Linked DNA regions of Homo sapiens: all the other regions are linked to region 1. The links are contacts of gene promoters, found by promoter capture Hi-C in blood cells and fetal thymus (Javierre and others, 2016). All regions are on one chromosome and are shown on one strand. Each heading gives the region's core, a stretch centred on a gene start or on the middle of the fragment in contact. The rest is flanking DNA. Distances are from core to core; before and after follow the strand shown. Region 1 holds the start of EPCAM-DT (EPCAM divergent transcript). Region 2 holds the start of MSH6 (mutS homolog 6). Region 3 has its middle 6.6 kb from the start of TTC7A. Region 4 overlaps TTC7A (tetratricopeptide repeat domain 7A). Region 5 overlaps TTC7A (tetratricopeptide repeat domain 7A). Region 6 overlaps TTC7A (tetratricopeptide repeat domain 7A).

Region 1 (3,844 bases), core at 369-2,868:
AGCCAGTAGCCACGTCCACTCTGAGCCTGTGAGCAGGCAGGATCAAGTCTAAGAGCATCTCTTCTTTGGAATCTTAAGGCCTAGGATCCCAGCAGTTTTGGGGTCTAAAGACTTTTCAGGCTCCCGAAACTCCCTCTATTTTTAATAATTTTAAATGTTTCCCCAATACTTAGCTAAGCAAAGAAGGAAAAAGTGTACTTTTATTACACAGTCAGTTCTGGATAATTCTAGGGGAAATTCTTCCATTTTAGAAATCTCTGCTTTCTTCTTTTCTCCCAGATTCTTCTCATTAATTCCCTCAGTAAATATTTGTCTGTGGCAGGGTGCAGTGCTCGTGCCTGTAATCCCAGCACTTTTGGAGGCTGAGGTGGACGAATCACCTGAGGTCAGGAGTTTGAAACCAGCCTGGCCATCATGGTGAAACCTCGTCTCTACTAACAGCACAAAAATTAGCTGGGCATGGTGGTGCGTGCCTGTAATCCCAGCTACTTGGGAGGCTGAGGCAGGAGAATTGCTTGAACCAGGAGGCGGAGGTTGCAGTGAGCCAAGATCACGCCACTGCATGCCAGCCTGGGTGACAGAGCAAGACTCTGTCTCGGGAAAAAAAAAAAAAAAAAACTATATATACATACATACATATATATATATATATATATAAAATGTACATATATATTTATCTGGCACCTACTAGATGCCCCAGGTACCATGGTAGGCACAGGTGTACAGTGATGAAGAGCATTTTCCTATAAAATATTACCCAGGCTGACTCCAAGTTTTAATACCTCAGGTAGGAAAAGGAGGAGAGTGTTAGTAAAATGTTTGCCGTTGAATTTCACCAGCGTAAAAACAACATTCTGGGAAATAATTATCTGCACTTCAGTTCTTTGGGGTGGTACCGGAGGGAATCTTTACAAAGGTGGTATTAATGGAGAAGAGGAAGGGAAGGATCCTTAGTGATGGGTTGTTTTTCCAAGCACCTCGATCTAGTGGATTTCCTTTTTTTTTTTTTGAGATGGAGTTTCGTTTTTGTCGCCCAGGCTGGAGTGCAATGGCGCGATCTCGGCCCACTGCAACCTCCGCCTCCCAGGTTCAGGCGATTCTCCAGCCTCAGCCTCCGGAGTAGCTGGGATTACAGGCACTCACCACCACGCCCAGCTAATTTTTGTATTTTTAGTAGAGACGGGGTTTTGCCATGTTGGCCAGGCTGGTCTCAAACTGATCCGCCCACATTGGCCTCCCAAAGTGCTGGGATTATAGGTATGAGCCACCACGCCCAGCCAGTATTTCCTATAAATAAATGCTCCTATAAATAAATAGTACAAATACCTTTCCAAATCTGAGAACTACTAGTGAGCATCAGTTTTAGAGATAAATAGAACAAAGCTCCTTTTCTGCAGTAAGAATATATTAGCTTAATGTTGCTTTTTAAAAAAGTTTCCACTGACCTTAAAAACACTGAAATCCAAGAAATTGGATTCTGGAATCTGAGGGCGAGGGAATCCCAGGGTTGTGGACACGCGGTCACATCAACAACAAAAACAAAAAGGAAATGAAAAAAAAAAAGGGACAGCAGCCTGAAATACTAAGAATCCAGGTCCCTGCAGGAAGCCCAGGGGACTGCCAGGAACACAGCCCCATCCCGGCCACGTGATCATTCTCTAGCCTTCCCCTGGGGCCTGGAGACAAAGGAGAGGGGAGGAGACTTGGGGACAAAGAGCAAGAGCTGTAGAGTCTAGCCCTGGGGTGAGGATGCCACGGCTACCCGGCTGTGAGTTTCTGCCTTTGTTTTTTGATCTTTCCCAAAGGAAGTTAAACATTAATCCGAGCTGTAAAAGGACTAAGTAAGCAAAGGTGCCTGTGAGAACCTCTAAGGCACCTGGTCATCCAGTCTGCCCGCCACACTGAGAGCAAAGCGTAAAGGGGAAAGGCTTTCACAACCAGCTCGAGCCCCCAGCCCCTCCTTTCGGGGTTCTTCCCTGCCTTTCAGAGTCTCCCCTCCCACTTCTCCTTTGGATCTCTGGGCGAACCTCTTTCCTTTCTGCCTCCATCTTAGCATTTATGCCTTAAGTTGCTGTCCCTATGCTGAAATAAATTCATTACAGAAAAGTATGCTCCCTGATAAATGGGTATCAGGTAACGACCAATGGTGAGAAGGGAGATAGTTTTTGTTCTTTGATGTTGTTTAAAAAAATTGCAAATGTCATGACAACGAGGCCAGTCAAGAAGACAAGGTGAAAGCCGGACAGAGATTCAGGTCCTTGCATGGCTGTGGAATCCATTTCCTCTGGGTACAGTGAAACTGCTTCCCCTAGCTTCCATTTATGATGATTTCCATTATTTGGAACGTTTGTTACTCTTTCTCTCTCTTTCTGTCACACACATGGGTACAGTGAGAGCTAGATGCAGTTTAGAAACCAAATCTCTGTTGAACAGACTGTTAATTTAAATTTTTGAAAACAAGGAAAAAGGAATAAAAATTCTAGTTCTGTAGTTCAGTGTTGAGTTTATTTTCCTTGTCTTGTTATTAGGAGTTTTGCCTTTGTCTCCTACCTGCTTCTGTTCCTCTCTGATTTCTCTTGTGGCTGATGGAGAGGAATTTTGGTATTGCATGTTCTTCTGAGACTCCTGGCGATGCTTTCCCAATTATAGAGCGAAAATACTCATTATGAGGCCAGTTTTAAAAATGGCCAGCTAGGCAGATATAAGGTTTTTCATGGTTGTTTAATTAATCTGTAATTAGCTCTGAGGGCACCACTTTTCTTTAATTTTGTTTTTGTTTGTTTCTTTGTTTGTTTTTGTAATGGAGATACTTACCTACAATAGGCTGAACACAGTGAGTCACACCTGTAATCCTATCACTTTGGGAGGCCAGGCTGGAGAATAGTTTGAAGCCAGGAATTTGGGTCCAGCCTGGGAAACATAGTGAAACCCAAGTCTCAAATAAAAATAAAAATAATAATTTACATATAATAAAACGCACAGCTCTTAGAGGTACAGAGAGTGTTGACAAATGCATACACGTGTGTAGCCCACACCTCTATCAAAATATAGAACATTTCCATCACCTCCTAAGGATTTCCTCATGCCTTTTCCCAAGGGAGGGGACTCCCAACTCCCTCCCTGTCCCAGGCAACTTTGTTCTGATTTCTGTCACCATAGATTAGCTTTGCTTGTTTTAGAATTCTGTATCAATGGACTAATACAGTGTGTACTCTTTTATATATGGCTTTTATTACTTAGCATAATGCTCTGAGGTTTCTCCGTGTTGTTGCAGATATCCGTAGTTCCTTCTGACCTTCAAAACAAAGGTACCTTTGATGGAAAACCCCCACAATTTATTAAGTGCCCTATGTATAGGATCTGTTCGTAGGCACTGTGCTTGGTGTTGAAGAAGTGCAGTGGCTTTCTTCTGTGTCAACTTAGCTGAGCTGGAACATTTCCCAGAATTCCTGTCCCTGTATATTCTGGGTTAGCGTTGGCTACCAGAGAAATTTGCAGTGTTTGGAAGGTGTAGGAAACAGCAGCCTTTTTTCTTTTTTACTGCTCTGAAGGTAAAGCGCAGGCAGCAGGCACTGAGGCAGCTCCCATGCATTGTTCCAGTGACGCTTAGTTCACCGGCATGAGGCTGTATCTGGACCGCGGCTCCCCTAGCCCCATCAGAACTTCATCAGCACTCCTAGCATGTAGGTTCAAAGTGGGGAGAAGTAGACCTGGGTTCCAGTTGTCCTTGTGAGTTTCCATGTGTCCTCACTCTCATTCAGGTCCAGCTTTCTTTTCCGACGCCAGTGAGACCACAGAGACTTTAGGCTAAACAAACTAGATACAGAGGCAGCAGTCTTGTTGT
Region 2 (3,844 bases), core at 590-3,089, 440 kb after region 1:
TGGGGGTGTTTACGTATGCCGGTGGGGGAAAGAGACCAACTCTCAAATATTATCTCAAACAGTTGGTTTCACTGTGCTTGCTTGGGTAGCACATATACCAAAATTGGAATGACCCCTGCACAGGGATGAAATGCAAATTCGTGAAGCATACTGTATTTTTCTTAGCACATACCACCTTTGGCAATATTCTTTTTTTTTTTTTGAGAGGGAGTCTTGCTCTGTCGCCCAGGCTGGAGTGCAGAGGCGCGATCTCGGCTCACTGCAAGCTCCGCCTCCCGGGTTCACACCATTCTCCTACCTCAGCCTCCCCAGTAGCTGGGACTACAGGCGTGTGCTACCACGCCAGGCTAATTTTTTGTATTTTTAGTAGAGGCGGGGTTTCACTGTGTTAGCCAGGATGGTCTCGATCTCCTGACCTCGTGATCCGCCCACCTCCGCCCCCCCCCCGAAGTGCCGAGTGCTGGGACTACAGGCGTGAGCCACTGCGCCCGGCCCCCGCCTTTTTTTTTTAGATTGATTTTATTACTTGCCTAGCAAAGGAGAACCTTCTGGCAGAACAGTCTCCAAGAACAAGGCAAACAACTAATTTTACATAGGTTTTTACCAATGTACAGCTGTTGATTGTGACTGGTTTCCGGCAATCTGGATTTCACAATCTGGATAAGGGGACAAACAATTGTCTGTCTTCCACTATCTTTCTTGAATTTGAATAGAACCTTTTTATTCTCATAGCCTCTTAGCTTTCTTTCTTTTTTTTTTGAGACGGAGTTTCGCTCTTGTCGCCCAGGCTGGAGTGCAGTGGCGCGACCTTGGCTCACTGCAAACGCTGCCTCCCAGGTTCAAGTTATTCTCCTGCCTCAGCCTCCCAAGTAGCTGGGATTACAGGCGCATGCCACCACGCCCGGCTAATTTTTGGATTTTTAGTAGAGACGGGGGTTTCACCATGTTGACTAGGCTGGTCTTCAACGCCTGACCTCAGGTGATCCGCCCGCCTCGGCATCCCAAAGTGCTGGGATTACAGGCGTGAGCCACTGCGCCCGGCCTCTCATAGTCTCTTAGCTTTCTAAAATTTGAAAAATCCTGTAAAGACACACCTGGGTCAAAGGGCTCAGATAACGGACTGTGGCCCTTAAGTACTTACGTCACAGGTTATTGAGAGGATCGATTTAGTTACCAGATGTAAAATGCTGGGATCAGTGCCTGGCAAAGGAAAACTTTGTACAGCTGCAGGCTTTCACCATACACAACAGCATCGCTAACGAATGCTATTACAATATTCATTTAGCGTTTACCAAGTGCCTACTCTATACAAATCTTGAGAATACAACGTGAAGGTGAACTGCTGACTAAAGTTTGGTCCCTTTCGCTCCGTCTCCTTGCGAAAATGCTCTAACGGCAGGAGGTCACGCGAGCGCTGGACGCGTTTCTCCCCGCGAGCCCCTTTCCGAGGCCTTTCGGGTCCCCCCGGTTATCCCCGCCCGGGCGGTGCGCGCCCCCGCTGTTCCCGCTTCCGCTCCAGAGAGGCAGGGCTTTCCGAGCCTGCTAGCCCCGCGGCCGCAACTAACCCCGGGTCGGAGTGTTCCGGCCCGGCCAGCCCCGCGGCGTGAGGGAAGGGGAGCTCAGCAGTTCCCCGCGCGGGGCCCAGGCGTCGGCGGCAGGGCGGGCCCCTCACCGCCAGCGTGCCAGCCCCGCCCCTACCCACCAGTGTGCCAGCCCCGCCCTTCCCCACGTCGCCGCGCGCCCGGGGGCGGGGCCTGGCGCGCACCGCCCGCGCACGGCGAGGCGCCTGTTGATTGGCCACTGGGGCCCGGGTTCCTCCGGCGGAGCGCGCCTCCCCCCAGATTTCCCGCCAGCAGGAGCCGCGCGGTAGATGCGGTGCTTTTAGGAGCTCCGTCCGACAGAACGGTTGGGCCTTGCCGGCTGTCGGTATGTCGCGACAGAGCACCCTGTACAGCTTCTTCCCCAAGTCTCCGGCGCTGAGTGATGCCAACAAGGCCTCGGCCAGGGCCTCACGCGAAGGCGGCCGTGCCGCCGCTGCCCCCGGGGCCTCTCCTTCCCCAGGCGGGGATGCGGCCTGGAGCGAGGCTGGGCCTGGGCCCAGGCCCTTGGCGCGCTCCGCGTCACCGCCCAAGGCGAAGAACCTCAACGGAGGGCTGCGGAGATCGGTAGCGCCTGCTGCCCCCACCAGGTAGCGGGGTGGGGGTGGGGTCGAAGGCGGGGGCATAGCGGCGGGGCGCTTGGAACCCGGCGAGGGGAGGCTCGCACAGGGGGTTGGGGGGGTGCACGGCCTGGCCCTGGGCTCGGAGGAGGCGGGGCCGCAGAGTTGGCTTGAATGAGTGCAGGGGTCGAGTCTGGAGCATTTGGGGGTGTAGCTTGTAAACAGGGTCGGAGGAGAGAGGCTGTGCAGGAAGAGGGCTGCAGGGGAGACGCGGAGAGTTCGGGCCTTTTGGAGGGAGGAGACGCGTCCCGCCAGGTGGGGGTGCTGGGCTAAGGAAGGGGCGACGCGCGCAGCTCCGGGTGGGGAGGGGGCCTGGGAGGTGGGAGCACTGGGGGTGGGGCGAGAAGGGGAAGGCGCCCGGCCCACTTGGTGGGCGGGGCGGGGGGCGGGGTGGCGGGAAGGAGGAATGCCTGCGGGAGGCCGAACGGGGAGAGTCCGGTGGTGTGGGGTGCGAAAGGAGGTTCCTCGGCCGGCGCGGAGATAGTGAGTTGGGGCTCCAGTAGTCGATCGAGGTAGACACTTAGAGGTAGTTAAGAGCCGCGGTCGCCGAGACGCCTTGGGGACGGTGGGCCTTCGGCCTAGGTGAGGGGCCGCCGAGGGGGTGGGCCACGAGCTGCGAGCGCGGGGGGGTGTGTCACCATGGGGACCGCGGGGCCTAATTGGGCGGGGCGGGGCCGTGGGGAGCCGAAGTGCTGGGATCCGGCTGGGTCCTTCGGTAGGTAGGCTGCACGTGCACCGAGACGAAGATAGAATATTTTGACGTATGTGGAAATTCGTGTCGAGTGGAAAATATTTTATTTTATGAAATAGTGTAATTTTTATGGGGCACCACTGGGCTTTTAGAGGCCTTAATCGGGCGCTGGACAAAGATGTGTGGACGTGAGTGACTCCGGGGAAGCCTGTCGGGAGTTGTCCTCACTTTATGGGCAGTTAAGTGCTTTTTTTTTTTTTTCCTTTTTGAGAGAGAGTTTCGCTCAAGTCCAGGCTGGAGTGCAATGGCGCGATCTCAGCTCACCGCAATCTCCGCGTCCCGGCTTCAAGCGATTCCCCAGCTTCAGCCTCCCGAGTAGTCGGGATTACAGGAATGCGCCCCCACACCCCGCCAATTTTGTATTTTTAGTAGAGACGGGGTTTCTCCATGTTGGTCAGGCTAGTCTCGGAATTCCCGACCTCAGGTGATCCACCCGCCTCGGCCTCAAAGTGCTGGGATTACAGGCGCTAGCCACCGCGCCCGGTCTGTTTAGGGCTTTTTATCCGGGCAGCTGGCGACATTTTGAAAAGCTTGCTTTTGCTGTTTGCCAGATACATATATATGTATTTTGAGACAGAGTCTTGCTCTTTTGTCCAGGCTAGAGTGCAGTGGCGCGTTCTTGGCTCACCACAACCTCTGTCTCTGGATCAAGAGATTATCCTGCCTCAGCCTCCCAAGTAGCTGGGACTACAGGTGCGCCCCACCACGCCTGGCTAATTTTTGTATTTTTAGTAGAGACGGGTTTCACTATGTTGGCCAGGCTGGTATCGAACTCCTGACCTCTTGATCGGCCCGCATTGGCCTACCAAAGTGCTGGGATTACAGGCATGAACCACCGAGCCCGGCCGTTTGTCAGATACTAAACACAAAGTTTA
Region 3 (3,844 bases), core at 536-3,035, 410 kb before region 1:
AGTTTGGCCAACAAGGTGAAACCCCATCTCTGCTAAAGATACAAAAATTAGCCAAGAGTGGTGGTGCATGCTTGTAGTCCCAGCTACTCAAGCAGCTGAGGCAGGAGGATCGCTTGAACCCAGGAGGCAGAGGTTGCAGCAAGCGCAGATCGCACCACTGCACTCCAGCCTGAGCAACAGAGTGAGACTCCATCTCAAAAAAAAAAAAAAAAACAGATGGAGCAAAGATATATTTTAAGGCTCAAAACTGCTATAATCTCTGAGTGGCCAGACACTCAAGGCTAGCCTTAGGAGTGATGGGACTTAAAACCAGACCAGCTAAGCTGCACTGAAAAGGCTCTGAGCCCTTGTGGGTTGGGATGGCTTCTCTCCCTCAGGATGGCAGTAGCTGGGCAGAGAACCAGCACTGGGCAAGATGGAGAAATCATGGGCTCCTGCTCTGGAGAGGGGCCCATTGTAGCAGTCTTGCAAAATGACATAGAAGCCACTAACAAGAATTAAGAGTCACCTGGGACCCCGAGGAACAGAAGGGACTGGGATGGTGGGAGGGAGGGCAGTGCCTGGAGAGATATTGGTATCTCAATCATGAAGTGAGTGGCTGGGGATAAAAAACACCCCAAAGCTCTCATCTCCAAGTGTGGGAAAATCTTCAACATTCTGAGATTCTAAAATTAATATAACAAATAATTACTGAGTGTCTACTATGTGCAAGCACAAAGAATTCATGATTCTGAAGCTTGCCTTTGTAGGACTTCATCTCTTAGCGTAATGATTACATGTAGTTTTTCTGGCAGCTGACAAAGGAAAAGACCATATAGCCAGCTCCTGGCAGAGTTTTAATGACAACATTCTGGGAGGGCTGGTTCAGTATTGAAATTAAGTAAGACATAAGATACCATGGGCAGGATGTGCTCTGAGCCAATGATCATGGTAATGAGTAAAAGTTGATTTCCGAATGTAGCGATCCTGAGCCATGCACATGACTACATAAAGTTGGGAAGGCAGTTGTCATTGTGCTCTACTTCGCATATACTGATGATCTGAGTGGCTGAAATGACTGTTGATCATGAAGCAAATGTTTAATTTATATTTAAATTTAGGATTTCTAGGGTGACAGCAAGGTGGAGTGTCATAAAAAAGTCAGAGCACTGGTCAGAAATCTAGCATGTGCTGGGAACACAGGGCTCTAAGGGACCCCACATGGTAAGTATGAAAGAAGAGGCCAGAGTGGAAGGTGGGGAGGGCATCTCATTAGGCTTGGTGCTCTACTTCTGATGGCTGGGAGCACTTGGTGACCTCCAGCCCAACTACTCACAGCCATTGTGACAACTAGTATAAGAATGATTTGATGAAGGCGAGGAGAATGTCATAATAATCATCCATAATAAATTTTTGAGTCAGTACACAGGAAGAACAGAAACCATCTACACCTAAGGTACTGTTGACCTTGACATGGCTTTACTATTGCAGGAAACTCTTACCCAGGATGATAAAAGTTGTAAATAACTTCACTGTTTTTTGCAGAAGTTTTCAGAAGAAACCATTTAAATGAACTCGATGACTTTTGTTTTTGAGACAGAGTCTTGCTCTGTTGCTCAGGCTGGAGTGCAGTGGCACAATCTCAGCTCACTGCAACCTCTGCCTTCCGGGTTCAAGCAATGCTTGTGCATCAGCCACCTGAATTGCTGGTATTATAGATGCATGCCACCACGCCCAGCTAATTTTTGTATTTTTAGTAGAGACAGGGTTTTGCCATGTTGGCCAGGCTGGTCTTGAACTGGCTGGTCTCCAACTCCTGACCTCAAGTGATCCACCCACCTCAACCTCCCAAATTGCTGGCATTACAGGTGTGAGCCACCCAACCCGGCCTGTGACTTTTCAATAGATAGACTCAAACTGCTTTTTATTCTCTAAAACACTTTAAAAACCCTCCCCTCATAGGTTGCAGTAAGCCTGGATGACAGAGGGAGACTCTGTCTCAAAAACAAAAACAAACAAACAAAAAAACCCGCACTTCAAAACCATCACTTTTGCCCTATCCCAACAATCCCAATCCTGGAATAAGGTATGAAGACTACTGCTCTTTTTTTTTTTTTTTTTTTTTTTTTTTTTTTTGAGACTGAGTCTCGCTCTGTCGCCAGGCTGGAGTGCAGTGGCATGATCTGGGCTCACTGCAACCTCCGCCTCCCGGGTTCAAGCGATTCTCTTGCCTCAGCCTCCTGAGTAGCTGGAACTACAGGCGCGCACCACCACGTCCAGCTAATTTTTGTATTTTTAGTAGAGACAGGGTTTCATCATGTTGGCCAGGATGGTCTTGATATCTTGACCTCGTGATCCACCCACCTCGGCCTCCCAAAGTGTGGGGATTACAGGTGTGAGCCACCACGCCGAGCCCTAAGACTACTGGTCTTTAAGGCCTTTGATTACTAGACCAACACCCCTGAGAAGCGTTGGTCACTAGATGGCTGAAGGCTTGTCCCTGCTGGAAAAGAGCTGTGAAGGGGTCAGGCGTGTGTGGAGGAACAGCTCATTACAAATGTGAGCCATGACAACTGTTCCTCCCCACACTCTTTCATCCTGAGCCCAGGAGTTCAAGGCTGCAGTGAACTATGATACTGTTGTATCATGATCCTTGCCCAGTCCTAATCAAGTCCCGTCATTGGAAGAGCTGCTTTAAAATAAACTCCTTTCTTGCCACTGAGCTTAAGCAAAAAAAATAAAAAAACAAAACAGACCCCAACACTTCATAACTATTCCAACTTTGCCTTCCCTATTCCAGACACTGCTATGACTCTGTCAGGGTAGTGTTCTCCCTTCCTGCCATGAGAACAAGCTAAGCTTTGCGTTATCACAAAAATTGTCTTGATGGTATTTGCTGTCACCCAAATGTGTACATTTACTTTTCTAGATAGCATTCAATTATTGAGGCCCGCAGTGATCCAACTGAGACCTCCTCAACACTGCAGTCCAAGACCCCTGACTCGGAAACAGGGTGATCCTCTGAGGCTCTTAAGCTTCCTGCTTGGAGTTCTTTCAGACTGAAACAATGAGAGATGCAAGTCTTGTATTGGACCCAAGCTCCAATTTCTTTTTTTAATTTTTCTTTTAGGTGTGATGGCTCACACCTATAATCCTAGAGACTAGGGAGGCTGAGGTGGGAGGATTGCTAGTGGCCAGGAGTTTTGAGACCAGCCTGGGCAACATAGCAAGATTCAGTCTCTTAAAAAATTAGAAAACATAGCTAGGGGTGGTGGCGTGTGCCTGTAGTCCCAGCTACTCGGGAGGCTGAGGCTGGAGGATGGCTTGAGCCCAGGAGTTCAAGGCTGCAGTGAGCTATGATTGCACCATAGCACTCCAGCCCAGGTGACAGAGCAAGACCCTGTCTCTAAAAACATAAAAAATAATAAGAAATAAATATATTTGCTTATTTAGCTTCCCAAATACTGAGCTTATTTTCTCTTCTACCAATAAAGAACTCTTTATCTGACCATATTTGAAAATCTTTTCCCCCTTGTGGATATCTGCCTTATTACTAACAACGCTACTACTTGTCTGTGTTCATCCTTGTCATTTTTTTGTTGTGCATCTGTAAGAGGAAAGTTTTTAGAGAAGAAGATAGGTGTAGGTCTCAGTCTGTCCCTTAGCTGGCCCAGGGACAAATTTTGTCTCTGATCAAAACTTTATGAGAACTTTTCTCAGACGTGTCTTATTTTGTCTTTAAGAGTTTGGTTCAGGACAATCTCTCCGGACCCTCTGTCTGCTGGGAACTGTAAATTCATCAGGATTACAGTTGGAAAAGGTCTAGCTATGAGGCTGGGGGGTCCTGAGCCACAGGATACACAAG
Region 4 (3,844 bases), core at 1,000-3,499, 390 kb before region 1:
TGACAGAGCAAGATCCTGTCTCACACACACAAAAAAAGTTCTTGTTTTCCAACCTCACCCTCATGCCCACACCCATCCTCAGAGTTGAGCACTGGTCAGTATTTGATGTGCATCTCCTATGCCTTTCTTTGTGCATTTACAAACATATATACACACAGATATTTCTTTTCATAGAGTTGTAAGATATATATTTTTCACCAAGAAGTTTTATTTAGAGCTTTCTCCATGCCAGTATTGTCTCATTCTTTGTATTGGCTGAATAGTAACCACATGTATTGTGACAACGGTTTTATTAAATACAAATTGTACCATATTTTGTTAAACAAAGACATATATAGGCACCAATAATGTGCAGAAATTTACTGTTATCCAGGCCAGAGCCAAAAACTTAATGATGATCTGTAAAATAATATATTAAATGTCGTTTGTGGGATTCTTTTTTGAGACAGGGTCTCACTCTGTCACCCAGGCTGGAGTGCAGTGGCGTGAACATGGCTCACTGCAGACTGGACCTCCTGGGCTCAAGTGATCATCCTGCTTCAGCCTCCTGAGTAGCTGGGACTATAGGCATGCACCACCACACCCAGCTAATTTTTAAATTTTTTTGTAGAGACAAAGTCTTGTCATATTGCTCAGGCTGGTCTTAAACTCCTGGGATCAAGCAGTCCTGTCACCTGTGCCTCCCAAAGTGCTAGGATTACAGGCGTGAGCCACCATGCCCGGCCATCATTTGTAGTATTTTCTATCTCACCCGCAAAGATCAGGTCACAGTTGGCGTGACCTTTCTTGGCAGCTGATGCAGTCTCAGGTGGATTCCTGTGCATCCAAGTAGCTCTGCTGGATGAGAAGGAGAGCTGGGAGAGGTGGGTCCTGAGGCCCCTCCTTGGGAAAGCTTGAAACCCTTTCCTCTTGGTTATCTCTCTAAGACCCCGTCCAGCTCAGTTGTGTGGAGATCAGTGAAAACAAGCCACTTGTCCTAAACTCTGTTCTGCTACTAGGTTGAGGCTTTGCACCATCGCATGCAGGCCTCCAAGGAACCTTCTGCAACGGTATTTACTATTAGCCCCATTTCTTTTTCTTTCTTTCTTTCTTTTTTTTTTTTTTCAATTTTTTGTAGAGACACAGTTCTTACTGTGTTTCTCAGGCTGGTCTCAGATTCTGGGTTTCAAGCGATCCTCTTGCCTTGGTCTCCCAAAGTGCTGGGATTACAGGTGTGAGCCACTGTGCCCTGCCAAGCTCCATCTCTTGAGACCCAAGAAAGGTGATCACAACCCAGGCCTTTAGTGTCTACAGCCCATGCTCTAATGCTGTCTCTCATTTCTTGGTACTGCCTCCCAGAGTACTGGGGTGGAAATAAAATAATGACTGGGAAAGTTGGATTCATGTGAAAGATGGTGATCACACCCCCACTTTTATAGTTCCCACGTTAGTCTGTGAAGTATTTCCTCATCCGTTCTTTCCTCATACCTGGATATCTCCATGAAGTCCTTTTTCCCCTTTTATTGACAGGGACAGTGAGGCACAAAAGGAGTAGGTGATGCGCTGATCCACACAGTAGAGGGGATTGTTCCTCTGGTAAAGCGACCTCCCCCGTGGCACCCTCCCACTGGGCAAGGGGTTCCGTTCCCTGACTGTTGTACTGATAGACCAAGAATATTTCACATTCAAATGCATGGGCCCCACAGAGTGCAGTGGACTCTTAATGTTGCCAAGTAAGGACATTAAGAAGCAAAAAATAGCAGCAAAATGATACCATCTTCTGCTCTTACTGTGCTATAACAGAAAAACAGTTTAGCATTGAAAGGGCAAGGTAGATATCCTTTCAGAACTAAGAGCCTTTTTTTTTTTTTTTTTTTTGAGACAACGGAGTCTCGCTCTGTCACCCAGGCTGGAGTACAGTGGCACGATCTTGGCTCACTGCAACCTCCGCCTCCCGGGTTCAAGCGATTCTTCTGCCTCAGCCTCCCAAGTAGCTAGGATTACAGGCGCCCACCACCACGCCCGGATAATTTTTGTATTTTTAGTAGAGACGGGTTTTACCATGTTGTCCAGGCTGGTCTCAAATTCCTGATCTTAGGTGATCTGCCTGCCTCGACCTCCCAAAGTGCTGGGATTACAGGCGTGAGCCACCGTACCCGGCCGAGCATTTTTTTAAATAGTGTAAATGTGGCTTTATAAAACATGCCCTGCATTGTCTAATTTTTCCCCAGCTTGGTGGAAGCTCTGTTGTAAACTGCCACTGGTCCTCCAGGAACCGCCACTAGCCACACCCCATCAGCATGCCTGAAATGTCCTTCTCTGCCTCACTGCCCTTGTCTCCATGTGCAGGATAATGATAAATACGCATACCCTGTATTTATCTTGCTCTTTTCCAAAGAAAAGTTCAAAGCTCTTTTCTGGACTTTGCCCTATTAATGCCTTCAGCATCGCTGTGATAGGCAGTGAGGAGTAGGTGTTATTATCTCTCCCTCACCCACGAGGAAGACGCAGCCCGAGCAGGGAGGAAATGAGCCCGTGGCTTGAGACCAGTGCAGGGAACGCAGAGTCACTGCCCAGCTTGGAAGGACTGTGGGCCACATACCTCTGGGATGTGTCATCTGTGGCCCTGGCCCAGGGAGTGGATGGCCTATCTGGGAAGACTAGCAAATCCCCTCAAAAGATTCAGCTTTGGAGAGTTAATTAATAGAGAGAGCAGGTCAGGCGTGCAGAGGCTGAATGGGCCCATTGGTAGAGGCATTGGAGGAGTTCAGCTGAAGGGAGCTCCCTGGTAGTCAAGGAGGCTTTCAGGAGAAGGTGGGCCTGAGCAAGGCCCCAAAGGATAGAAGAGGACCTGGTTAGGCCAGGGGGAAGGGGACCTGAGGAAGCACAGGCAAAAGAGGAATGTGGATTTACAAAGGCCAGAAGGACCAGTTGGGAAGGTGAATTTGGCTTCCCCAGAGCCTGTCTGTGCCACGCTTCATTTCTCTTGGCTTCTGAGAGGGCAGTAGATGGTAAGGAGTGCTGGAGGCTTGCCCTGGGGTCACAGGGACCCCAGACTCTTACCTCCCTACAGGGAGACAGGGGTAGCACCTTCCTGCCAGTGACAAATGCCAGGTGTGGGATGAGAGCTGCATCTTCGGGGAGTTTTATGGACAGATTGGTGCCTGTGTGGCGGGAGCAGTGCCCAGGGCCTGGCCCATAGGCATTGTGAGCCAGCTGAGGACAGGATCAGAGGCAGGGGGCCAGAGCAAATGGCCTGCAGAGGCGGGAGGTTACAAGGAGAACTGGGGCCATGTCCAAGGTCAGAACTCACGTGCCAGGGTGGCACAGCCCAGGGCCAGCACAGCCTCCCTCAGGCAACAGCACAGGATCCCAAGCCACAGTAGGGGTGATCATGGCTGACAAGACCACTGCAGGCCCTAAGGGAGGCCCTGAGAGTTCCTCTGTGGGATGGAGATTGAGATGTAAGCAACTTTTGAAAAAGGAGGGGAAAGAAAACACGTTTAAATTCAGCCACTCTTGGCCTCCGTGATTCTGCACTTTGACCCATTTCTGATAGGAAGAGGATGGTGACGCAGCAGGCCCTCTCCTCCTCAATCTGTCCCTCTGCCACTGTAGGGGGAGGCATAAGCTTTAGGGTCCTCACAGGCTGTTTCTAAGGCCTTTCACCTAATTATGATTTGCATATACATGTACACAAGAGGACTCCCAAAATGAGAAGCCTGGGGCTCCACAAAACTTAACTCCATCTCTGACTCCCCACTTGTGTTTAGAATAAATGCCTGAGCTTCTGAGTGCCCCCTGGGGCTGCAGTCTTTGGGGGGATTCAGGAGAGGGAAGACAGGGCCTAGTCTGCAAGGTCTCT
Region 5 (3,844 bases), core at 798-3,297, 370 kb before region 1:
ATGATGTCCAGGGCTGGAATCAGTGCCTGGTAGCAGTGGGCAGACAAATGGGACCCTATAGTTGTTATCTAAGTTGAGGGAGGGCAGGCCACAGAATCTTGTGCATCCTCAGAAATACTGTGTGTCCCTCCTGAGACCCAGTCCTGACCTCTGAGGAACTAAGACCTTCTCTTAAATCTCCTCTGGATTCTGAAAGAGGAGGTGGATGCCTCATTGATTTTTTTTCCCCTCAGATTAGACAAAGGAAATGGTATACAGAAGGCAAGCCTGTCTGGTTGGGCAGGAGGACCCTGTTAGAGCTGAGGCTTTTAAGCAACAGCTCAGTTAATGAGGTAATTGTTCCTCAGCTTTTCCTGGAACCAGAGGGCTCTCAATTCTCTGGATGTTCTGACGTTCCATGCTTGTTTGAGAGGGACAGTACGGTGCCTGGCATATAGCAGGCACTTAGATGTTTGTGGAATGAATTAACTGATACATAGTAGAAATAGCTTGGAATCCATACCTGGCTAGGCTTGAGTTTGAGGTCCGGACTGACACCAGCTTTGTGATCTTAGGCATTAAATTATTATTGATGGATTGATTGGGACAGAGCCTCACTCTTTTGCCCAGGCTGGTCTGGAACTCCTGGCCTCAAGCGATTCTCTTGCCTCGGCCTCCCAAAGTGCTAGGATTATAAACGTGAGCCACCACATCTGTAATTGACACTTTTGACCTTAGACATTTTCTGAGCCTCAGTTTCCTCATCTATAAAATGCAAACAAAACCAGCCCTGTAGGACCGTTGTGAGGCATAAGTAAGATTTGGGCTTGGGTGGCAATTTTCTAAGAGTTTCATTTCCCCTTCTCTTTCCTTAACTGGAGGTGGGGCATGGACAGTAGTGAGACTCAGGAGACACAGCTCCTGTCCTGTGGGAGTGAAGTCTGGTGGGAGCTGAGGTTTGCATACACAGAACAGGGAAGCAGTGCTGCGTGAAGCGGTCTCTCTACCATGTGCTCAGGCAGTGAGTGCTGTCTGGTTGAAGAGTGAGTGCTCAGCATGGTTCTGGACAGACAGAGAAGTCCTCCTGCAGTAGAGGGTAAGAGTGGAGAGGGGAACCTGACTGCCTGGCTCCGCCACCACCTGCCACGTTAGTGGCCTTGGGGCAGGAAGAGACCCTCTCTGTTCTCACCGGTGAAATAGAAATGATGACAGTTCCTACCTAATAGAGCTGCTCTAAGGACTAAATGAGCTAATGAATTTAAAGCTCTGTGATTGTTGAATGAATGTTAGGGGCTTAGTGCAGTGGTTCATGCCTGTAATCCCACCACTTTGGGAGGCTGAGGTGGGAGGATTGCTTAAGCCCAGGAGTTTGAGATCAGCCTGGGCAACATAGTAAGACCCTGTTTCTTAAAAAAAAAAAAAGACAGAGGGCTTGTGGGCATCTAACGGTTGGATGGGGAGAGAATGCTTTAGACATATTTTGAGTTAAAGCGAGTTAGATCAAGCCTGGTCTGAGAATGCAACAATGTGCCCCTGAACAACTGGGACTGGGATGGTGATGAGGCCACCTCCTCTTGCTGAGTGACCCTCTGCCTCAGAACTTTGAGACAATGGCTCTCTCTCTGTTTCCCTTCCCAGACCACAAATAACAGCACGTCGAGGCATCTGAAAGGCTGTCACCCGCTTGACTATGAGCTCACCTACTTCCTGGAAGCTGCCCTCCAGAGCGCCTATGTGAAAAACCTGAAGAAGGGGTAGGTCACTGGTAGTTGAGTGAGTGGGAGAACGATTCCCCTGGGCTGAGGCTTTTGACGTGGCCTTAAGGCTGCTCTCCCTCTTCTCTGGCCTGTGCATACGTGCTCTTCCAAGAGGATTGGTGGGAACTGGCTTGTGTCACATCTTGTCAGACAGGAGTGTGCAGAGACGTTCTTAGTGGGAAGGGCCACGCTTCAGGAAGCCACAGAAGCAATAAAGCCTGTGTGTGCTTGGGGGAGACTGCCAAGAAGAGAAACAGGAGTGGGCATTTCAAGAGGGGAGGGTGGAGGGCATCTGGGAGGTGATGTTGAAAAAGCAAAGGACAGTGAGCTGGCCAGTGGGTCTGGTTTTGTCTACTGTTGTCTGCAGTGTGAATGAAGTTATTTGGTTCCTCTGAGCCTCACGTTCCCCAAAAACCCAATGGGAAGGCAGATTCCTGTTCATTCCGGCTTTTAAGGAGTGGTGAAGGACGAGGGAAAGTATGGTAGAAGTGAAGTTCTGGCGTCACGCTGGGGCTGTGGCTGTCCCTGCTGACGAAGCAGCAGAAGTGCTTGTTTTCCTGTGGGTTGTCTTGAGGTCCCTGGAATACTGGCCTATCTGAGACCTAAGAACCATAGTGCCTGGAATGCCTTCCGTAGGCTTTTGCTCCTGGGTGAAGCAAGACCTGCCTTGTTGAATAGTCGAGGGGGTGGCTGGTGTTAGGCCGGGAGTGGTTGTTTCATGGGGTGTGTTGGGTGGTGGCAGGGGAAGGAGAAGATTCAAGATGAGGAGTGCGTATTGGCAGCAAGTGTCGCTTCATGGCTATTCCGCAACTGGTCCGGTCTGCTGGCAACATCTCCACCAGTCTGGGGACTCCCAGGCGGGAGCTGAGGTTTCCTGCCTGTCTCTGCAGCAGAGGCTTTGGGCCCCTTCCTCTGCGTCATTACAACCTTAGACAGACACAGTGGGCTGGGGCTGGAGGACATCACTGACGAGAGGAGCAGACCCATAGGTGCCAAGCGCAGCCGTCCCCCGTGCGTAGTCACGCCCTGCCTCACTCAGCCTTCCATGGCCATGGGTCAGGCCCAGTAGGTGTGACCACCTCCTCACACACAAGGAAACCAAGGTCAGGGTCACACAGCTTTCTTGTCACTGACTGCCTGGAGTTCTCTGAGGCCTGTGTGCCATTTTTAGTGTGATTTATTTTGTTACATTTCACTTTATGCATTCTTTTCATTACATGCTTTTGAATACATGATTGTTGCATATGGTACTTGTTTAGTAGGATAAAGCAAACTTACTGTTTTCTTCTACCCTATACTCTCTCTCTTTTTTTTTTTTTTTTTTTTTAAAGACAGATCTTACTCTGACATCCAGGCTGGAGTGCAATGGTGTGATCATGGCTCACTGTACCTCCTGCGTTCTGGGCTCAGGTGATCCTCCCACCTCAGCCTCCTGAGTAGCTGGGACAACAGGCATGCACCATCACACCTGGCTAATTTTTTGTAGAGAGGGAGTTGCATTTTGTTGCCCAGGCTGGTCTCAAACTCTTGGACTCAAGTGATCCTCCCGCTTCAGCCTTCTAAAGTGCTGGGATTACAGGCGTGAGCCACTGTGCCTGGCCCTACTTTATACTCAATACAACACAGGTCATTTCTGTGACCAAATGTGGGGTTTTTTCCGCGACTCACAACCAGTTCTCTGACACCAGCTGGGTTTCCAACAATTAAATTCACCTCTGATGCTAACCGTCAGGCTTGATCTGGGCCCTGGCTGGGGCAGGGGAAATGGAAGGAGTCTGGGAGGGGCACAGAGGCTCAGTCCCATGAAAGACTGCCTTCCATAGCAGATACCAGTCACAAATAGCAGGTTCCCAGGTTACCAACAACTTCTGTCTCAACTGGCTACAAATCAGGTTCCCACAACCTCTTCTCAGATCCATAAGTTGCCAGAGCAGCTCATGGAACCCAGGAGAGCAGTTTACTTGCTAGATGACTGGTGTGCAGTACCACGTAAAATGGTACAGCCTAGCCAGGTGGAAGAGGCGCATAGGGCTAGGTATGCGGAAGGCATGCGGAGCGTCCAGGGCCCCTCTGGGTGCACCACTGCCACGTGTCCAGCAACCTGGAAG
Region 6 (3,844 bases), core at 449-2,948, 350 kb before region 1:
GGAAATGCTCCTCTTGTCTAGGAGAGGAGAGAAGAGAAAAGATGAGGTAGGAGCCGTCTGAGGCCAGCAGAGGGGTGGGAGCGCCAGTGTTGGAGGGACTGAAGGAGCAAGGGGGCTCCTTGGGAGTGGGGTTGGGGAGTTTACCCAAAGGGCCGCACATTGCAAGCGGGGCAGATTTAGCTGGGATGGGCAGAGGGCGTTCTAGGTCATGCTGGGGTAGAGCTGACAACTGTGCCTGGGTCCGAGTGCTTCCCTCTCTGCCAGATGGCGGCCAAGCACCTGGCGGGGGTCCTGCTGCACTCCCTGAGTGAGGAGTGCTACTGGAGCCCCCTGTCCCACCCTCTGCCTGAGTTCATGGGCAAGGAGGAGAGTTCTTTCGCCACTCAGGCCCTGCGGAAACCTCACCTCTATGAAGGAGACAAGTAAGTTCTGCCTGCCCTGCTGCACCTTGCCAGTCTCACATCTCACGCAGGGTTCTGTCCCCACTGGTGGCTTCCTCTTTGCCCCATGCTCTCCTCCAGTCTCCACTCAGCACACTGCCAGCCAGCCTCCTCAGTCTCAGCAGGAGCCAGATGAACTAGAGAAGGCAGGTGTTGGGGTCCAGGTTGTGGAGATAATCCTATAAGGCACTCGGAGACCAAAGAAATCATTTAGAAGTTACCTGTCTTCCCAGTAGTCTTGTCTGATACACCTCTCTCTCGCTTGTGCCATTCATCGAAGGTGCGGTCTGTAGCCAACCAGCAGAGCGTAGTTCTGGCTTCTCCCTGCTTCTTGCCCCAGCCATTCCCTGCAGTGCTGGTGCTGGGAGGAATGTTTCCTCCCTGGGAGAATCCGTACTATTCCAGCCCAGCAGCCACCACCCACCGCAGCCTTTCAGATCCATAACTCTGGGGCATATGGTATCCGGTGCCCATGAATTATGCAGGAAGAGGTCACCTTACCGAGCTGGTGCTGACTCTGGGGCAGAAGGCTGGCATGGTGGGTCAGTGGTGCTGTCTGGTGAGGTGTGTGCTCTAGCCAGGCCTGTCATTGGTGTCTTTCAGCCTCTACTGCCCCAAGGACAACATCGAGGAAGCCCTCCTGCTCCTCCTCATCAGCGAATCCATGGTAAGCTCCAGGATGTCCTTCAGGGGCCTCTGGCCCTCTGACCCTGTGGGGAAGGGCTGTGGGGCCCAGGTACAGGCCACCCGTGACCTAGCCAAACTCTGTCTCCCAGGGATACTCCTAAAGTAGATGCTTCTTGGCCCTGGGCCCCCATACAGCAAGTCTTGCTCATTAGGTTTGGAATTGGCTGTCGAAGGCTTCATTTGGAGGCCTGCGTTCTGCCCCCAAATAAGTAGAGACTGAGTGCCTAAGTCCCCACCCACCTCTTTTGGGATTAAAAAGATGATCATCAACAAGGTCACAGTAAAATGTTACATAGCTGTGTGTTGGGTGCTGTGACAGATTTGAGAACATGGCAGGTAGGGAATGGAAGGAATGTGTACTTTGGAGTCAGAAAGCATGGAATCAGGTTCCAGTTCTGCGTGTTAGTTGAGGGCTGGGGCACATCACTTATTTTCTCTGAGCCTCCGTTTTCTCCCCTGTAATATAACAATACTCACAAAGGTAAGTGTGCCTATGGAAGGAGTTCATTTATTCACGCAACAGCTATTTATTGAGCATCTACTTTGTGCCAGACCCTGCTCTAGACACCAGAGATGCCGCAGCAAACAAAATGGAGAAAAGTCCTTTCCCTCGTGGAGCTTACATTCTAGTAAAGGGAAGCAGGCAGTAAATTAATCAAAAACTACAATATGCAGGATGTCCACGCGTGAATGCTATGGGAAAAGAACACAGAGGAGAAGACAAATCGTGCTAGACAAAGCACACATGAAGTTGGCTGTTTAGACTTTTCTACAGGACCCATTGCTCATGTCCTGGGCAGGAAGATGAGGCAAACACAAGCACGTGGATGCACGCACACACTCGTGCTTGCACACATATGGTGGCCATGGTACCAAGGAATGTTTGCCCAGGGCCAAGCACTTTGGGTGCTCAGCAAAGGAGAGTGCACTGTGGCTGTGTGGTTGAGGAGGTGGTAAGATGAAGGATGGACTGGACTGGTCCAAAGGGGGCACAGGAAGAGTGGGGCAGGAGCATCAGAAGCCAAGCACACAGGAGTCATCTACATGGTCAGGTCCAAGTCCTCCGACCAAGGGGCCCATCAGAGCTGGTGAGCTGGGAACCACCAGGTTGAGAAATAGGTTTTTAAAAAAACGACGCATCTGAGAGCAGTGTATGGATATGGAGGTTAAGAAACCAAGATCCCGTGAGCTGGATCCCTGAACAGCCAGAAGTGAATGTTCCCTTGGATGCCTGGGACCATGCGATGCCAGGGCTTGCTTAGATAGCGTTGGTAATCAGATTGCCTCTGGTGCCTCAGGCCTCCCAGCAAATAGGAGCAGGCGCTGGCCTGTGGGGCAGAGGGATTGCATCCTGCCTCAGCTGGGGCTGGTCCATGTTGGATCTGAGAGTTTCTGTGTAGGGTGTGGATATTTGGATGGGAGTGCCAGCTGGCCAGGGTGTTGCCCTAAAATGTTTGCCTGTGAGGTGGGTAAGTGGTTGCCCAGGGGAGGGGCCATCTCGCTGGTTAGCAGCTGTGGAGATACAGGGACCATGTGCCACATCTGATTTTCATGGGAGAACAGTGTGCTTTTTACTTTTTAAAATGGGCCCTTACTCTGACCACAGACTGAATCCTAGTTTTGAAATATGGAACCCCAGATGCAGACCAGTATTCCCATCCCCTCTCCGCCATTTCACCACGTTCACCCTCCAGTGAGACTGCCCTGGAATCATCTGTCTGGAAACACAGAGTTTTTTTTGTGGTGGTTGTTGTTGTTGTTGTTGTTGTTGTTTTTTGAGACAGAGTCTCCCTTTATCGTTCAGACTGGAGTGCAGTGGTGCGATCCTGGCTCACTGCAACCTCTGTCTCCCAGGTTAAAGCGATTCTTCTGTCTCAGCTTCCCGAGTGGCTTGGATTACAGGTGCGCGCCACCACACCTGGCTGATTTTTGTATTTTTAGTAGAGACGGGGTTTCACCATGTTGACCAGGCCAGTCATGAACTCTTGACCTCAGGTGATCCACCTGCCTCAGCCTCCCAAAGTGCTGGGATTACAGGCATGAGCCACTGTGCCCGGCCTAAACACCGGTTATTTTGTGGCCTTTGTGTACTGAGGCTTCCAGTGCAATTTACAGGTAGGTGGTGAAAGGCTGGAAACGGGGTCGTCTGTTAGGTCCTTTCTCAGCTAGGGAGGTTCCAAGCTGATTAGGTGCGCATTATGTTGAGTCATATGAAATTGCCAATTTTCAATTGTTTATGACCTGCAAAAACAACAGTTTCATATAGTTCAGTCTAATACTGTATGTTCCCATCTTACAGATGACAAAAGTGAGGTCCAGGACAGGTATGGCTGTTGGTCAAGGTCATATACTAATAAGCCTTGAAGCCATGACTCGAACATGTCCTTCTCCCTCAGCAGTTTCCAAGCCCCAGGACGCAGGGCTCCTGGACTTCCATCCTGGTACTTCCCTTGCCCACTGCTCTAATCCTTGTTCTTAAGTGTAAAAGGCCAAGGAGGTGACTTTGGGGATCAGAGGGCTTTGTAAAAGGGACAAGCCTGTCAGGGTGAGGATGGTCATAATTTTTCTCCTGGTAGGAGTGAAGCTGAGCTCTGTCTTCCCAAGTCATTTTCTGTAGCCTCTGCTTGATCTGAGTCCTCAGGACAGAGTTCAGATGCCTTTCAGTTAAGGCTGTCCACCCACCCCCAAACCCTCCAAGTGGAGAATGGCCTTTTACA

What was found. Contacts are between HindIII fragments. The CHiCAGO score rates a contact against its expected background, and 5 or more counts as called.
Region 2: the fragment with the promoter of MSH6 here is called in contact with the fragment with the promoter of EPCAM-DT in region 1 in 9 of 17 cell types (M0 macrophages, naive B cells, naive CD8 T cells and 6 more); the score reaches 12.3 in M0 macrophages.
Region 3: a contact is called between a fragment that was not itself captured here and the fragment with the promoter of EPCAM-DT in region 1, in 1 of 17 cell types (neutrophils). The highest score is 5.4, in neutrophils.
Region 4: a contact is called between a fragment that was not itself captured here and the fragment with the promoter of EPCAM-DT in region 1, in 1 of 17 cell types (neutrophils). The highest score is 5.1, in neutrophils.
Region 5: a contact is called between a fragment that was not itself captured here and the fragment with the promoter of EPCAM-DT in region 1, in 1 of 17 cell types (neutrophils). The highest score is 5.7, in neutrophils.
Region 6: a fragment that was not itself captured here is called in contact with the fragment with the promoter of EPCAM-DT in region 1 in 1 of 17 cell types (neutrophils); the score reaches 6.1 in neutrophils.

The regions. Positions count from the first base shown.
Region 1 is chr2:47,343,456-47,347,299 of GRCh38, forward strand. It overlaps EPCAM-DT (EPCAM divergent transcript), which reads right to left and starts at 1,619. Exons shown (of 5, transcript NR_110208.1): 1 at 1,446-1,619. The HindIII fragment of the contact is 13,271 bases long and covers 1-3,844 here.
Region 2 is chr2:47,781,306-47,785,149 of GRCh38, forward strand. It overlaps MSH6 (mutS homolog 6), which reads left to right and starts at 1,840. Exons shown (of 10, transcript NM_000179.3): 1 at 1,840-2,188. The coding sequence starts at 1,929. RefSeq lists silencers at 81-262, 1,413-1,892, 2,173-2,332, 2,533-2,622 and an enhancer at 1,213-1,282. The HindIII fragment of the contact is 5,497 bases long and covers 1-3,497 here.
Region 3 is chr2:46,932,705-46,936,548 of GRCh38, forward strand. It overlaps a transcript of MCFD2 not described here and a transcript of TTC7A not described here. Among named protein-coding and RNA genes, the nearest start is that of TTC7A, 6.6 kb to the right of the region's middle. The HindIII fragment of the contact is 2,102 bases long and covers 735-2,836 here.
Region 4 is chr2:46,952,730-46,956,573 of GRCh38, forward strand. All of the region lies in intron 2 of TTC7A (tetratricopeptide repeat domain 7A), which reads left to right. Among named protein-coding and RNA genes, the nearest start is that of TTC7A, 13 kb to the left of the region's middle. RefSeq lists a silencer at 2,401-2,695. The HindIII fragment of the contact is 2,718 bases long and covers 891-3,608 here.
Region 5 is chr2:46,977,175-46,981,018 of GRCh38, forward strand. TTC7A (tetratricopeptide repeat domain 7A) reads left to right here. Exons shown (of 20, transcript NM_020458.4): 5 at 1,618-1,733. Among named protein-coding and RNA genes, the nearest start is that of TTC7A, 38 kb to the left of the region's middle. The HindIII fragment of the contact is 9,377 bases long and covers 1-3,844 here.
Region 6 is chr2:46,994,093-46,997,936 of GRCh38, forward strand. It overlaps TTC7A (tetratricopeptide repeat domain 7A), which reads left to right. Exons shown (of 20, transcript NM_020458.4): 7 at 265-422; 8 at 1,044-1,107. Among named protein-coding and RNA genes, the nearest start is that of TTC7A, 55 kb to the left of the region's middle. The HindIII fragment of the contact is 5,728 bases long and covers 1-3,844 here.